Regions from separate parts of the Homo sapiens genome. Here region 2 is linked to region 1. The links are contacts of gene promoters, found by promoter capture Hi-C in blood cells and fetal thymus (Javierre and others, 2016). All regions are on one chromosome and are shown on one strand. The core of a region is centred on a gene start or on the middle of the fragment in contact, and the rest is flanking DNA. Distances in the headings are between cores, read along the strand shown. Region 1 holds the start of CRBN (cereblon). Region 2 overlaps CNTN4 (contactin 4).

Region 1 (7,396 bases), core at 4,897-7,396:
ACTGGCAGCACTGTACTGGGGTGGGAGCTTCCTGTATGTATTTCCTGCCTCTACCGCAGATTTCCTTTATTTGCCATGGGATACTTAAAATTCAGCTTCAATTTAAAGTGGTACAACCTATGAATTTTGAGAGAGAGGGAAAGAAAAGACCACTCTTTTGGAAAAGTAATCCTTTACGTTAAAATAAAAAAGCACTACTTCTCTATAATGAAGACAGTTATTGAAACTAAGATTCCAGAAATGTTTTTCATCAAATATAAATGATTAAAAATTTTTCAAATACCAGAAAGTTAAATTGTGTATGAAGGTGAAGAGCTGAGTTAGATGGTAATGAAATGAACAAAAATACTCCAACTTGCACTATCAAACTTCTACTTAACCAAATTCCTAACCTCACATTCTTACCCAACCTCTCCTGTACATGCGAAATAACAGCCTGCTTTGGCTTCAACACTGACCACTGCAATTACCCATGAGAGGGAATGTATTAAGCAAATGGACTCTAATATTTTACCTGTATGCAAGAACAGCAAAGGTTCTATCTTTCTGAATTAAATTCCGCACCATACTGACTTCTTGAGGGTGAAAAAGCTGAAGAGGTAATGTCTGTCCGGGAATCAGGATCATCATCACTTGTGGAAGAACTGGAATCACCTGACAGCTGTCGTCATCGTGCAAAGTCCTGCCATGAAATTCTTCCATATCAGCACCTAGGTACTATATAAAAACATATATAGGTATAGTGTCATGATCGATATGTAATAAAAATGTAAGCTCAACAGACTAAAGAGCAAATCACATTAAAAGAAATACAGGCCGGGCACAGTGGCTCACACCTGTAATTCCAGCACTTTGGGAGGCCGAGGTAGGCGGATCACCTGAGGTCAGGAGTTCAAGACCAACCTGGCCAACATGGTGGAACCCTGTTGCTACTAAAAATACAAAAATTAGCCAGGTGTGGTGGTGGACACCTGTAATCCCAGCTAATCGGGAGGCTGAGGCAGGGGAATCACTTGAACCTGGAAGGTGGAGGCTGCAGTGAGCTGAGATTGTGCCACTGCACTCACTCGAGCTTGGGCGACAGAGCAACACTCTGTCTCAAAAAAAAAGAAAAAAATACAAATGGGGTTACAAACACTTAATAAACGTGGTATATAAGCATCCCATGTTAAAATATAATTTTTAATCTAACTTTAACTCTTAGAAGAATTTCTAATCTTTTATGAATATATCACAAACACAGAAATTCAAGAATTTTTTTAGTACAAAGTATTATTTTTACCAAGAAATATCTCTATGCCCACATATCACAAACAGTAAGTATAAAATGTTAGTATGTTCAATAACACTCTAGTACCTAGAAGTACAGAGAAGTATTTAATAGCTCAATTACCAGAAAGAGTATAAAGAGCAACAATTCCTCAAACAATTCTACCACAACATAGTATTAAGCTTCTTAAAAATTACAGTTAAATGTTTATCTACTGGCAAATAGCCCATGTCCTCATCCACAATTTCTGATATCTAGTAATACAAATATCAGTCACTTGTTTTTATGAACTTTTATCTACATTTAAATGTATATCTATTATATTAGATCTGTCACTAAATTACATACTGTATGTGATGTCGGCAGACTGGTGTCAAAATTTATGATGTTTGGTTTTTTGGCTTCTTTACTATCCTGGTCTTCAACTTCCATTTCATCTTCTTCCTCACTCTCTGCTATAAAAGTAGAATATTGTAAGAAAAAAAAAAAGATGAATGAAAACCTTTCAAACATGTAATTCCTTCTTCAAAAGAGGGGTACTTCTAAAACCACATGCATTTGGTAAACTCTACAGCACCGTGAAGAGGGAGCCAGAGGACTGGGGTCCGTGCTGGGCTCTGTCAGTAGCTATTTTTTTTTTTTAAGTCAACTGTGAATTTTAGAATAGTTTAACATTTACAGAGAAGTGTAAAGATAGTACAGAATGCTCCCGTGTGTCACACATCCTTTTCCCCTATAGTTAATTTATATTAGTATGGTACATTTGCCACAACGAAGGAATCAGTCTTGGTACATTACTCTAACTAAGCTTCATATTTTAAATGGATTCCCTTAGTTTTTATCTAGTCTTTTTGCGTTCCAGGATCCCACTTTACATTTAGTTATCAGGTCCCCCTACCCTCCTCTGGGCTAGGGGGGTTTTCAGACTTTGCTTGTTTCTGAGTTTTGAGGAGTACTGGTCAGGCCTTTTGTAGAGTATCCCTCAACTGGGTTTTGTTTGATGTAATTCCCATGATTAGACTGAGGATACGTGTTTTAGGGAGGAAGACCACAGAAGTGAAGTGTTGTTATTCTTTTCCTTTTTAGAAATGGGGTCTGTTGCCAATGTGCTGTTTTTATTACATATCCAGCCTATATATTATGAACTATTCCTGCTGTTAACCTTGATCACCTGGCTACAGCAGTGTGTGTCAGGTTTTTCCGCTGTAAAGTTCCTTTCCCCCCTCCTTTTCACATTGTACCCTTCGGAAGCAAATCACTAGGTGTAGCCTCCACTTCAGGGGTGATGAGTTATGCTCCACTCCCTTGAAGAGGAAATGTAAGTTATTTAAAATTCTTCTATATGGGAGATTTTTCTCTTCTCCCTCACCAGTAACTAATTTTAACACCTTAGACAACTCATTCTGCCCAATTAAATTTTAGTTTCCTCATCTGCAAAATGATAGGCTTCAACAAGTCAACCTCTAACGTTCTCTCAAACTCTCAACTTCAATCAGTTCCTACATAAGTAAGAAAAGAAACAAAGCAGGCAAGATCTGTTAATTAAAACTGAGAGAAAGATAACCTAGCAGGAAGAATTTCACAGCATTTTTCTAGTGACAACATTTCCCTGGCAGTCGCTACATTATCTTAAAATGAAGGCCAGGTGTGGTGGCTCACACCTGTAATCCCAGCACTTTGGGAGGACGAGGCAGGCAGATCACTTGAGGTCAGGAGTTCAAGACCAGCCTGGCCAACATGTTGCAACCCCATCTCTACTAAAAACACAAAAGTTAGCCGGGTGTGGTTGTAGGTGCCTGTAATCCCAGCTACTGGGGAGGCTGAGGCAGGAGAATCGCTTGAACCCAGGAGGTGGAGGTTGCAGTGAGCTGAGATTGTGCTATTGCACTCCAGCCTGGGCGACAGAGCAAGACTCCATCTCAAAAGAAAGAAACAAAGAAAATTTTGCAATCATTTGCATACTATTTTGCTTAATTTTAAATTTAAAAATAAAGTTTGCATGAAGCATAAAACATTTTAAAAGAATGTCTTAGAAAACCAGATGTTACCAATGACAGCAAAGAAAATTAGAAAACGCTACACAATACATATGCTATTGTACTAACTGTGAGTCTGTCCTTTTCATACAAACTATGAGTAAATTTCCTATCCTAGACCAGTGACTCTCAACCACAGGTGATTTTGCCCCTCAGGGGATATTGGTTGCAATAACTAAGGGAGTCCTACTGGCATCTAGTGGGTAGAGGCCAGGGATGCAGCTAAATATCCTACAATGCACGAGACAATCCCACCCAAAGAATTCTCCAGCCCAAAAGTCCAGTGCTGAGGTTGGGAGACCCTGGCCTAGACTAACAATAAAGAATTACTGAATCTCATTTCTCACCTCCCAGTTCATGTATTTTTAAATGCCCCAAATAAACTTCTAAATCGATAAAATGTCATTACGAAATAATCATTTGTTTTCCTTTGCATATCATTATTTAAGTCAAACCACCTCTAGCCAGGCCCCTGACAGAAAATAAAAATGATTTTCAATATGGTAACTGCCTTGGACTTTCTATTTATTATTACAACTTCCTAGATATAAAACTTTGTCAAAAACAGAATTACTTCAACTTATATGTAAATAGCCAATGGTCTAACACTTCATACAAATTTTCCTTGGAACATGTAAGTTTCACTGAGATAAAAAAAGAGCTATCTAAATGGATGACAAAAATATTCTGCATCAAATTGTTTGTATTTCCAACTCTGACAGTATGGCTATCACTTGGCATGCAGCACAACCCACTTTATTGCTCTACTACAGAAAGTTTAAAAGATAAACTATTAGCTCAAAGGCTGGAATTAATATTGTTAAAAATTTACATTTTAACTGTTCTGACTCCTAGTCTCTAAATAATTTCTTTAGTAACCTTTTTTTCATAAATATGGCTAAAAACCACTTTCCCCTACTCAGTTATGTTTATTAATGTTTCATTTGCCTAGGATAAACTCTTCACATCTCAAATATAAAGCTTTTTGTTGGAACTTAGAGGATTTACTCTTCAGAACAACTCGTACTACATGGAATTATGGAAAGCCCAGTGTTTCCCTACAAATAAAATTTACGTAATTTGGAGAGGCATTATTGCTATATCTACACCATCTCTGGGCCCTCTCCCGACGCTTTTCTGAAAAACAAAAAACAAAACAAAACAAACAAAAAAAAAACAAACAAAAAACCACGCTGACTGTTCAGAGCTATCAGTGAAGTCTGATGACTCATCTCATGCAGAGGCACGATGTGAATGTCGACAGAAGATCAGTATCCTCCCTCTTCTATTCACCATTCTCCCTGAAACACCGGATTTGGCACAGAGAGTAGGGCTAATGTCTCTGAAAAAATAGCTCAGCTTTCCATCAAAGGCTGGCACACTTACCCTTGTGTCAACTCAGCTAGAATGGCTTCGAGAACAACCAGTGACTATGGTTTATTTTTACAGAAAAGTTCTCTCCTATATGGTGGGCACGCACTCAGTCTCTTCCTCTTTTAATCCATGCTGCTACCAGTGGACAAATTAATCTTCCAAGCATAGATTTCTTTAGGCAATTACCTGAAACCTAAAACTGTTTCTTGGCAATCCACAGGAAAAACCCAAACCCACTGGCAAGAGATGCCAGTTTCCCAGCAACTTAGACCCAATATACCTCCTAGGCCTTATGTCCCACAACCATATCCTAAATATGTGCTTTTAGATGTCTCCTGATCTACCTGAAAGGCTTTTTCCCAAATCCTCTGACCCTTAAACAACCTCTGCCTCTGAAGAGCCACAACAGCATTCATTTATCTGGCCCTAAATCAACCGCCTCTGCAGTTGATTTACGTTTAGTTATATTCTCAGCAGCCCCGCCTAGACAGTAAACCTCAATTATCAGATTGTGTATTACCTCTCGTTTCATCTCCACAACACCTAACATACTTGTCATATAACGAAGGGACTCAAGTAATACTTTCAAGTTTGGATGATACACCTTTTGGAAAGCATCTCTTGAAAGGCATTCCATGAAAAGTTTATGCAATATTCCATGCATTTTTTTTTTTGTTCAGTATTTCAACACAAGGCCAAAGTCTAAACATTTCACACAACATACAGGAAAAAGAAAAACTAAGTATCTCTGATTAAGCATAATCGTACATGCCTGAGAAAGACCGATAGTAAGAAAAACAAAACAGAGAAGTGGTTTAGAGATATAATGACAGACACACCCGGGTTGGAATCCTGACTCTGCTGTGTGACCTTGGGCAAGTCATTGAACTAATCTGCAAATCCAATACTCGCTTATCAAATCGGAAACTGAAAACTGATGTGGGAAGGATTAAAAGGCGACATGCATGCAAAGCGTTAACTGCACGGCTCGTAACATGGTAAGTGCTTAGTACATGTTAGCTGTCACTCTTATTAAAAGGAAGGAGACCAGCAAAAGTAACCGCTGTGAATCTGACCCGGTCCTCTAGTTTCAGAGCATTTCCTAGGAGCTAAACTCAGAACACAAGGAGGATGGAGAGGATGGGTTTCCTGTTCTTAATAGCAAATGCTCCCCCCGACACCCTGGCTCACGGCTCGGGGCAACAGAGCAGCGAAGAAAGCGCCGCGACTCCATCGCTGGCCGAGGGCCGACGTGAAGCAGCTTTCCGGTGCGGCCCTGCTGGGCTGGCTCGCCAGGCTTGGCGCCCCCACGCCCGCCTCCCAGGCCCAGCTGCACCGCTAGCGGCTCCGAGCCTCGCCCCACTCCCGACTACAGGGAACTACTCCGGGCGGTTACCAGGCAGGAGCGGCAGGTGGTTGCCCATGTTGTGCGCAGCGTCCTGCTGATCTCCTTCGCCGGCCATGTCTGTTTACCCGCAAAGGAGGCTGGGACAGGGCGGTGCCGAAGACTCCGAGGGAGGGCCCGTGTCGCGCGGCTGCCGCGCACCGGGGCCACAGCGCCCCCTGGCGGCCCCAGGGGAGCAGACGGCGGCGCGTACCCAAGCCTGAAAGTGATGGCCTAGGCGGGAGGGACAATTACAGGCCTGCGCTCCGTCCCGGGGACAGAACGCCGTCCCCTGCCATCCACGGCTGAGTGCCCGGCGTACACGCTGCAGAGCCCTCACTTTGTTCCAGCCCTTAGCATGACTTATTTAATCCTGATATTTTGCATATGGAGAAACTGAGGCTGAGAGCCTTTAGTCTCCACCTTGTTTTTAAACGAAGGGGGCAGGGAGCAAATAGAAACCTGTTCATGCAGCATTAGTTTCAATTCTTAAAATAAGAAGCATATATGTGAAGGCTGGGGAAATCCATCAGTTATTCCGAGGGTGGTTGAATTATTGCTGATTTTCTTCAGTAGTTTCAATGTATGTACATACAACTTCAATAACTTCAGTAGTTTCCATATATGTACATTACATTCCAAAATTAACAAGTATTAATCAGAAACATACTTGAAATGATGATTGCACAGAATGGAAAACGCCTTATAATTGGTAAATAAAATTGTCTGAATATAAACTAGCCTACTCATTATGACTTCAGCTATGTAAAAACAAGTCACTGTGGCAAAAAAGAAAGACTATGTAAAAAATGAAGATAATTCTGTTATAATGGTGGAGTTGTGACTGGTAAGATATTTGTTTTGGAGGGAGGACAAAAGTTTTCGTAGTGTATTTCAGTATCACTTTTTCAGCGAGGAAGGAAAACTGAAAAATCCTTAAATGAAATACAACATCTAAACATGGTAGTGGTGGTGGTGGGCGGAGGCTGAGAGGAAGCAGCAGCATTGCTCAACAGAAAAGTCATGGATCTGAGATTTGAAAAAATGATTTCAGAAAATTTGCCTCCCTGATAAGTTACAAGCAGAAAACTCCCTTGTGACAGAGGCTTGTGAATCATTCCTGTGTCATTTTGCCTCCTGTCTCCGAATCAGTCTGTGGTCTTCGTCAAATCACTTATGGCTGCGGGCCTCAATTCGCCCATTTGCAAAATAAGAACGAACCAAATAGTGTCGCCTATTTGTTCCAGTTAATAATGTCTGCAACATGAATCATAGCATCACCTTTTACGATGAGGTTAATAACAATTACATATACTACGTAATGATTTAACG
Region 2 (7,396 bases), core at 1,753-4,252, 410 kb before region 1:
AAAACTGAGTTTAGAATTTGATGGTAATAAAATACCCAGACTCAATTTCTAAATGCCGTACTGTCAACTAAACTCCACTTGCATCCATAGGTGAAAAGGTGAAGCCGTGTTTTGTTCTTTTGCCAGTAAGTGGCAGTGCTGAGTGTAGTACAAAGAGATAGAGGATAGGGTTTCAATATCACCACTCGTACTTGTCGTCACTGAGTTTCTGCACGGAGATGAAAGGATGAGATTGAAGATGCTAACGAAGTCAGGAAAAGCCCACTTAACCGACAGTGCTAGAGAATGGAGCTCAAGTAATGCTGATAGTGCTTTTTTTCCGGGTTAAGAAGACATTTCTCCTGGCTCCCCTTCCTAGAGTATGTCTCACATAGTTATTTTAAGAATTAGAAAACATATGTGAAGTACCTGGTCTGTAGTAAAAAGGGAAACTATTTGTTTTCCTGGGATTAGACAGCTAATCAAATACTGCTCTACTAGCCTGCTGTGTATTTTTAATTTTGCTTAATAATTTTAAATTATTAATCATCAATTAAATATGGGATAGCTATAATTAGATATTTTATATGCCTTAGAGTTTTTAATACCTGTGAATAGCTGCACATATAAGTTCCTCTGTCGTCTTTGTTTCTAGTTATAAAACAGGTGCCCTCAGAGAGCATCCTACAGATTGATAAAGCAAGTGCCACCTGGAGAAACCTAATTCCTTATTCAAGAAATCTTCATATGCCAAGAAATACATAGCAAGTAATAACCTAAAACTGATCAAAATAAATATTTAGTGACTGTTTCTTCAATGATGACACTGTACCCACACACACAGAAACTAACATTGTTGGTGCTGGAAAGGACAAATCACCAGCTTTGAAAATGTATCATGAACTTAGGGATTTGGGCAGTGGGAGAGGAACAGCCTTCCAGAATTTGATCAGCTGTCTATAGCATTTCCAAATGAATCCTACTTTATGATGGCCCTTGAGAAGGCATCCCTCATCACCACTCTTTCCAAATCAGAGTTAAAGCCCAGAGTCACAATAGGGCTTCCTTTGGGGGTTTGGTTCAAAATTTAAATATCACCTGTCTCTGCCACTCTGGTTAATGTGGCCTTCTTCAGTGACTGCCTCTCTCAATGCCCTGTGGATTTCCTTCACCTTTCTCCTGATCGCATCTATAATTTTATCTATAAGTCTACCTTTTGCTTTGTCAGTCCCACTAGAAACTCCACCAGTGCTTCACACACAGTGTTAGATACATTTTTTAGATAATCAGGCTAGTCCAAATGACCATCAGTTAGTGAGTGGATAAAGAACTGTGGTATACATATATATGATGGAATACCACTCAACCATAAAAAGAGAATGAGTTAGTGGCATTCGCAGCAACCTGGATGAGATTGGAGACGATTATTCTAAGTGAAGTCACTCAGGAATGGAAAACCAAACATCGTATATTTTCACTCATAAGTGGGAGCTAAGCTATGAGGACGCAAAGGCATAAGAATGATACAATGGAATTTTGGGACGCGGCGGGGAAAGGTGGGAAGAGGATGAGGGATAAAAGGCTACAAATTGGGTTCAGCGTATACTGCTTGGGTCATGGGTGCACCAAAATCTGACAGATCACCAGTAAAGAACTTACTCATGTAACCAAATACCCCCTGTTCCCCCAAATCCTATGGAAATAAAAAATTAAAAATTCAGGAGATGCAATAGTAGCAGAGCACAACGAAATAACAGAATTAAGGACACATTCGCCATATGTCTCTTTTATATTGAGAACACAGCAATATTAATGACCAGATGATGACCTTCAACCTAAACTGGAAGTTGTGTGACAAAGTCCATGTTGGTTTGGAAGCTAAAGGTGGAAAGTGAGATTAAATACTATAGGGCATGGAATGGTAGTGACCTGCAACTTGGAGCTGATGTAAGGACTTGATAAGTCAAAGCTCACTAGGATGCAATACTAGAAAAAATGGTCTTGGTGTATCACATGGATTAAGTGAGATTAAAAGTAGTTTTTTTATTAGATCTCAAAAAAAATATACCAGGCTAATAAGTCATTCCATGTAAAAGCGAGGGTGACAAAGAGAAGCTGGTAAGAAAGGCAACCTTGAAAGTCTTCACACTTTAGAGCTAAACATGCAAAATATATTCAGAGACAAGATGAATGTGCTTTCCTTTTGGAAGTGATATTGATCTGGGGAGAGGGGGAGGGTGATCTTCCAAAGACTTTATTTCTTTTGTTATCAAGTGATTGGTGTGAGTGCACCCTTTTGATCAGAGGTATGTAGACATGCTTGAGTAACAGCTCTCTCTCTCCTCTTATTGAACTGCTTTTTGTGATTGATTTTTAAAATAAACGAATTGTTTGCTTCAGCTAATCAGGGACTAGTTAGTGTATCCTGAAAAAGGAAGTTTATATAAGTGCTCTTTATTACCTTTACTGAGTGAGTGGGCTTTTTTGTTTTTGTTTTTGTTTTTGTTTTTTAAATTTTCAGTTAGTTGCCCCATTGACAGACAATAGAGATAACAGTGAGTCCATGGAATACCTCATGGTGGAAAATGCACAGCCGATTAGAAAAATGTTCTACTTGAGCGTACCAAACTAATCCCAAACAGTGAATTCTGATCCCCTTTCTGTCTCAGATTTTCTCTATGATCACGTCTTACGATAATAAGAAGCAAAGTCTCTAATGGAAGTTCATCAGTGGCAACAACTGTGGCTAACCTGACAACCCAGCACCTAGTACAGTGCTCACAGGCAGCTGGTGTTCAATAAAAGCTTCTTACATAGCTCACCTTCTCAGTATTTTTGTGTTTTTTTCCTTTAAGTGGTTAGAAGGCAGAATTTAAAATATTGTCACATAGCAGTGGGCGTGTAAGGTCATCTGCTGTTTGCCAACCAAATGGTGAGGCTAGAAAACATTTGCATATAAATGTTACATTTGGTTGAGGCTTTTAAATTACAGAAATGTAGGTAAAATGGTCAGAGTGGCAGTTAGAGATGAACAAATGTTTTACATCTGTGGAGCCTTCATATTTATTGCTTTGAGTGTCATTGCCATTTCCTGCTGGAAATTAAACATCACAAATGTATCCTTCATTTGACCAGGTGGCCTCGATGCTTCTGAAATGAATGGCGAATCCGGTAATATAAATTGTAATCACATCACAAGCATCTTCCTCTTAACCTTGGTAATGATGTGAAATAGTGCATTTTAAGCTTGTTTTGAAGGTTAAGCAGGAAATCTTATCTTGGATAATTAATATTTCAACAAAAATCAATGTGGCTACAGTTAGCAGGTAGGTAATCTGACTAATTGGCTCAATATTAAATTTGTTAACTACAAATTGTCTTTCAGCTGAAATTGTATTGGTAGAAACAAGGAAATTGGTGAAGTATTTACTAGATTTGTAGCACAGTCTTGTTCAGCTTGCTGTAGAGAGCTTGTGATTTAAACATGGTGGACCAATGGGAGCTCATTCTCCAGCCACCTCCACAGCAGTCCTGATGACTTCCCCTATCTACTTTATAATGGCACTTAGGCTGAGGCAGGAACATTTCCTCAGGAAATTGTCACCGTGTCCACAGAAAGTGGGTTGGTCCTCTGTGTCTACTGCTTCACTTTCTCCTTAATAATCCAAGCCAGCACTTTATGCCTTGAAAAAAATAACTAATAGTTAAGTTGTCTATATCGTTTTCCTTTTTAGAAAGTACTTTCAAATCTGTTTTATCTTTTAGTCTTTACAAAGGCCTGTGAGGTATGATTTATCATCATCACCATCCCCATCTTACACATGTAGAATGTGAAGCTCAGAAATAGGAAGTGACTTCCTCAAGTTCGTGATCCCATTAAGGGACAGATCCGAGGATCAAAACCCAGACTTTTGACTTCAAGTCTTGAAGTCTTTTCATTGTACCATATCTTCATTTAAAATGGGGTCCACCCTGAAGCCAAAGAAACACATCCTTACTAGTAGGTATCTGACATTTGTCTTATTTTGTGAAAAAGATATTTTGGGAGCACACCTTCAAATGCTGGTTCCCAAAACTTACCTATACTGAAATTTCCACCAGTCTACGCAAATATGCACTACATTATTAAAATAAGGTGGCCAGGCACGGTGGCTCACACGTGTAATCCCAGCACTTTGGGAGGCCGAGGCGGGCAGATCATGAGGTCAGGAGTTCAAGACCAGCCTGGCCAATATGGTGAAACCCCATCTCTACTAAAAATACAAAAACAATTAGTCGGGCGTGGTGGCGCACACCTGTAGTCCTAGCTATCCTGGTGGCTGAGGCAGAAGAATCACTTGAACCCGGGAGGCAGAGGTTGCCATGAGCCGAGATTGTGCCACTGCACTCCAGCCTGGGCAACAGAGTGAGACTCTGTCTCAAAAAAAAAAAAAACAGAAACAAAACAAAAGGCAGTGTTTAGTCAATTAAAGGACAGTTTTTCTGTTGATACTATCTTTCTGTAATTTTTCACGTTGAAAAGTTCTGTCTTTTATGTATTGATGATGGTAGAAAATTGTGGTGGTACTGGTGGTAACTTTTAGTATCCATAGTTAGAAACACCTATGTTGGTTTCACACACATCTCATATTTCCCCTTAAAATTCTATTGCTCCATTAAATCCAACACTCTGTAAACCAGGATTTTAAAAAACAACATACAGATGATAGAATGGGTGGCAAGTAAAAATGCTTCTTGCCTGCAGCACAGGCCCTTAGAAATCATCAGCGGAGCCAAGGGTCTACAACAAGCAGATCAAAAATAGCAGCAAGACAGGCTAACTATCTTCAGGAATCAATGCCAGCCTCTTATGGCATTCCCTAGAGGCCATCTCTTGGGCCTTGGCACCTGTGCTAGTTTCATGGTTAGATTAGTTATGTCCTGTTGCTGAAGAACAAGGAGTGACTTCTCTTCCATCTCTCTCTGTCTCTTTTTGTTTGTTTGTTTGTTTGTTTTTTTTTTTTGAGACGAAGTGTCACTCTCTTGCCCAAGCTGGAGTGCAATGGCGTGATCTCAGCTCACTGCAACCTCCAACTCCCTGGTTCAAGCAATTCTACTGCCTCAGCCTCCCGAGTAGCTGGGACTACAGGCACGCGTCATCATGCCCGGCTAACGTTTGTATTTTTAGTAGAGACGGGGTTTCACTATGTTGGCCAAGCTGGTCTTGAACTCCTGACCTCGTGATCCGCCTGCCTCAGCCTCCCAAAGTGCTGGGATTACAGGCGTGAGCCACCGTTTCCGGCCCTCTTCCATCTCTTTCTATTTAGCTTTGGAGGAAAATGTTAGAGATTTAAAACCATTTGCTATAAGGCAGTATTGCCTTTTGCACACACAAACCTTCCCTGGTGGGGGAGGGCCAAGGGCCCTCAGCTTCCTTCATCCCAAGAGAGGAAGTGCATTGTTATAAAATCCCTCATCAGTCTGGCTCTACCAAAGAAAAGGTATCATAAAAGCTTCAGATCTCTGCAAAATAGTGTCTCTTTTTCTACAGATCTTTCTTGCCTGGCTTCTACACATGCATCACTGCACTGACCCGTAAGGATTAAGGAAAGTAAACAAACAGAAACTATCCAGGGCTAGAGATAATCAGTGGACCAGGCTGAGCAAAGGAATGTAAATCTAAGTGTCATGTGGCTAAGAACTGCTGTTTGAAAAGCTGACGCAGTGGGAATAGCAAGAGTTGACAGGCAATGCTTAGTGTATGGTGAGATGCTCAGTGTGAGACCAGTTACCATTTGAGGCATAGCTCAGGGGCTCTGCTACCAAGCATGGCAGATAACTCCCAGAAACACACACAATGCATATCCAGGTGATAGTAACAATGTGTTTTACTGTGTTTTCCTCATTTTTTGGTTTGCTTTTCTATTAAAAATTCAGAGAGGGGTGCATATGTGCTTGAAAAATACTGTTTCCCCTTCACTGGTAGTGTCTAGCATCCCTGAGTGGTCTGAAATGGAAAGAGCAACATGGAGCCTCATGCATCTTCACAGAGATTTGTTTCCAAAGTCAGCACTTAAAGCAAAATGACTGTCATTAAAGTTACCCTCAGAATTCTCTTAAGTTGGAAGTATACATACCCATGGGAGATAGGCATGCCACCTCTCCCCCGAGGATGGAACAGACAAGTAATTGTTTCTTTGGTTGAAAAGCAGGTGAAGAATTAACTTAAGTTTAGAGCCACATTGCATGAGAAGTGGGTATCTTTAAATACTCTACAACATGGGAAGGTACTCTCTCTATGTGAAGCCAGTGAAAATTGAAACTGAAAAATAAAAGAGATTTGGGTCCCTCATCTCTAATGCAGTGTTGGAAACTGATCAAGCAAGCCACATGGTGGGCAGAATTACCCACACTATTTACATGGCTACCTCTTCTCTCTCACACATATCACTCCAATATGTGACCTCTGGCAAATCATTCTACCTCTCTGAGTCTCAGTTTCATTCTCTGTATAATGGGGATGATGTGAGTATCAATGGCCATTTTAAGGACCAATTGAGACAAAGTATGTTGACATATTTTCTTCCAATTATGTAAATGTCTTATATAAAATAAGGCATGCTTTATTGAAAGAAGATAATAGAAAAAGATCTAAAGAAAAAAATCTGAAAGGAGTAAAAATAAATAAGGAAGATCTTGTACTTTAGTGGAAGAGAAAGACATACAGTATTAATTCCAGGATATTATGTGGTAAATGAAAAGACAGCAGTGTGCACAGTATGTAATGAAAACATGGAGAAGCAATATGTAATCCGTCCTGGGGTACACAGTAGGCTCCCCAAGAGAGACAGTGACTGAGCAGAGTCTTGACAGATGGTTGATAGTTAAAGAGGCCAAGAGAGCTGGCAGGGTGTTTCATGCGACAAGAACAGCAAAGCCTGAATCTTCATGGATATGCACGGGACATGGAAACATTCCATGTTTCAAGGTTGTCAAATATGAACTGGAGAGTGGGAGGCTACAAGGGGAGAGAGAGAGAGCTAAGGCGGGGAGATGATGGAGGACCTTGTTTGACATGGTAATGAGCTTTAGCTAATCTTTTGGTGGCTGACGATCTCAAAGGGTTTTAAGCCAGCAGAGTGGTATAACCAGGTTTGCATTTTAGAACTTGATTACTGTGGCTTCATTTTGGAATGGGCATTTAAGGCACTAGGATACCAGCATCTGGAAAAACAGGAAGGCTTTCCAATATCGCAGGCAAGAAATAATAAGAGTCTATCCTAAGACAAAGGCAGTGAAAGTAGAGGAGGCATATTTGAAAAATACTTTTGTGGTGAAATCGTCAAGGTTCGTTGGATGGTTTGGGTGAAGGTAGGGACGGAGACTGAGAGTAAAGAGTACAGAAAGAAAGAAAAAAAAGATCATAGAATGACTTTAA

The links. Contacts are between HindIII fragments. The CHiCAGO score rates a contact against its expected background, and 5 or more counts as called.
Region 2: a contact is called between a fragment that was not itself captured here and the fragment with the promoter of CRBN in region 1, in 1 of 17 cell types (activated CD4 T cells). The highest score is 5.2, in activated CD4 T cells.

Annotation. Positions count from the first base shown.
Region 1 is chr3:3,173,545-3,180,940 of GRCh38, forward strand. It overlaps CRBN (cereblon), which reads right to left and starts at 6,147. Exons shown (of 11, transcript NM_016302.4): 1 at 6,077-6,147; 2 at 1,619-1,725; 3 at 515-717. The coding sequence starts at 6,143. RefSeq lists a silencer at 6,211-6,380. The HindIII fragment of the contact is 7,719 bases long and covers 4,286-7,396 here.
Region 2 is chr3:2,765,066-2,772,461 of GRCh38, forward strand. All of the region lies in intron 6 of CNTN4 (contactin 4), which reads left to right. Among named protein-coding and RNA genes, the nearest start is that of CNTN4-AS1, 290 kb to the right of the region's middle. RefSeq lists enhancers at 1-500, 5,413-5,936. The HindIII fragment of the contact is 441 bases long and covers 2,783-3,223 here.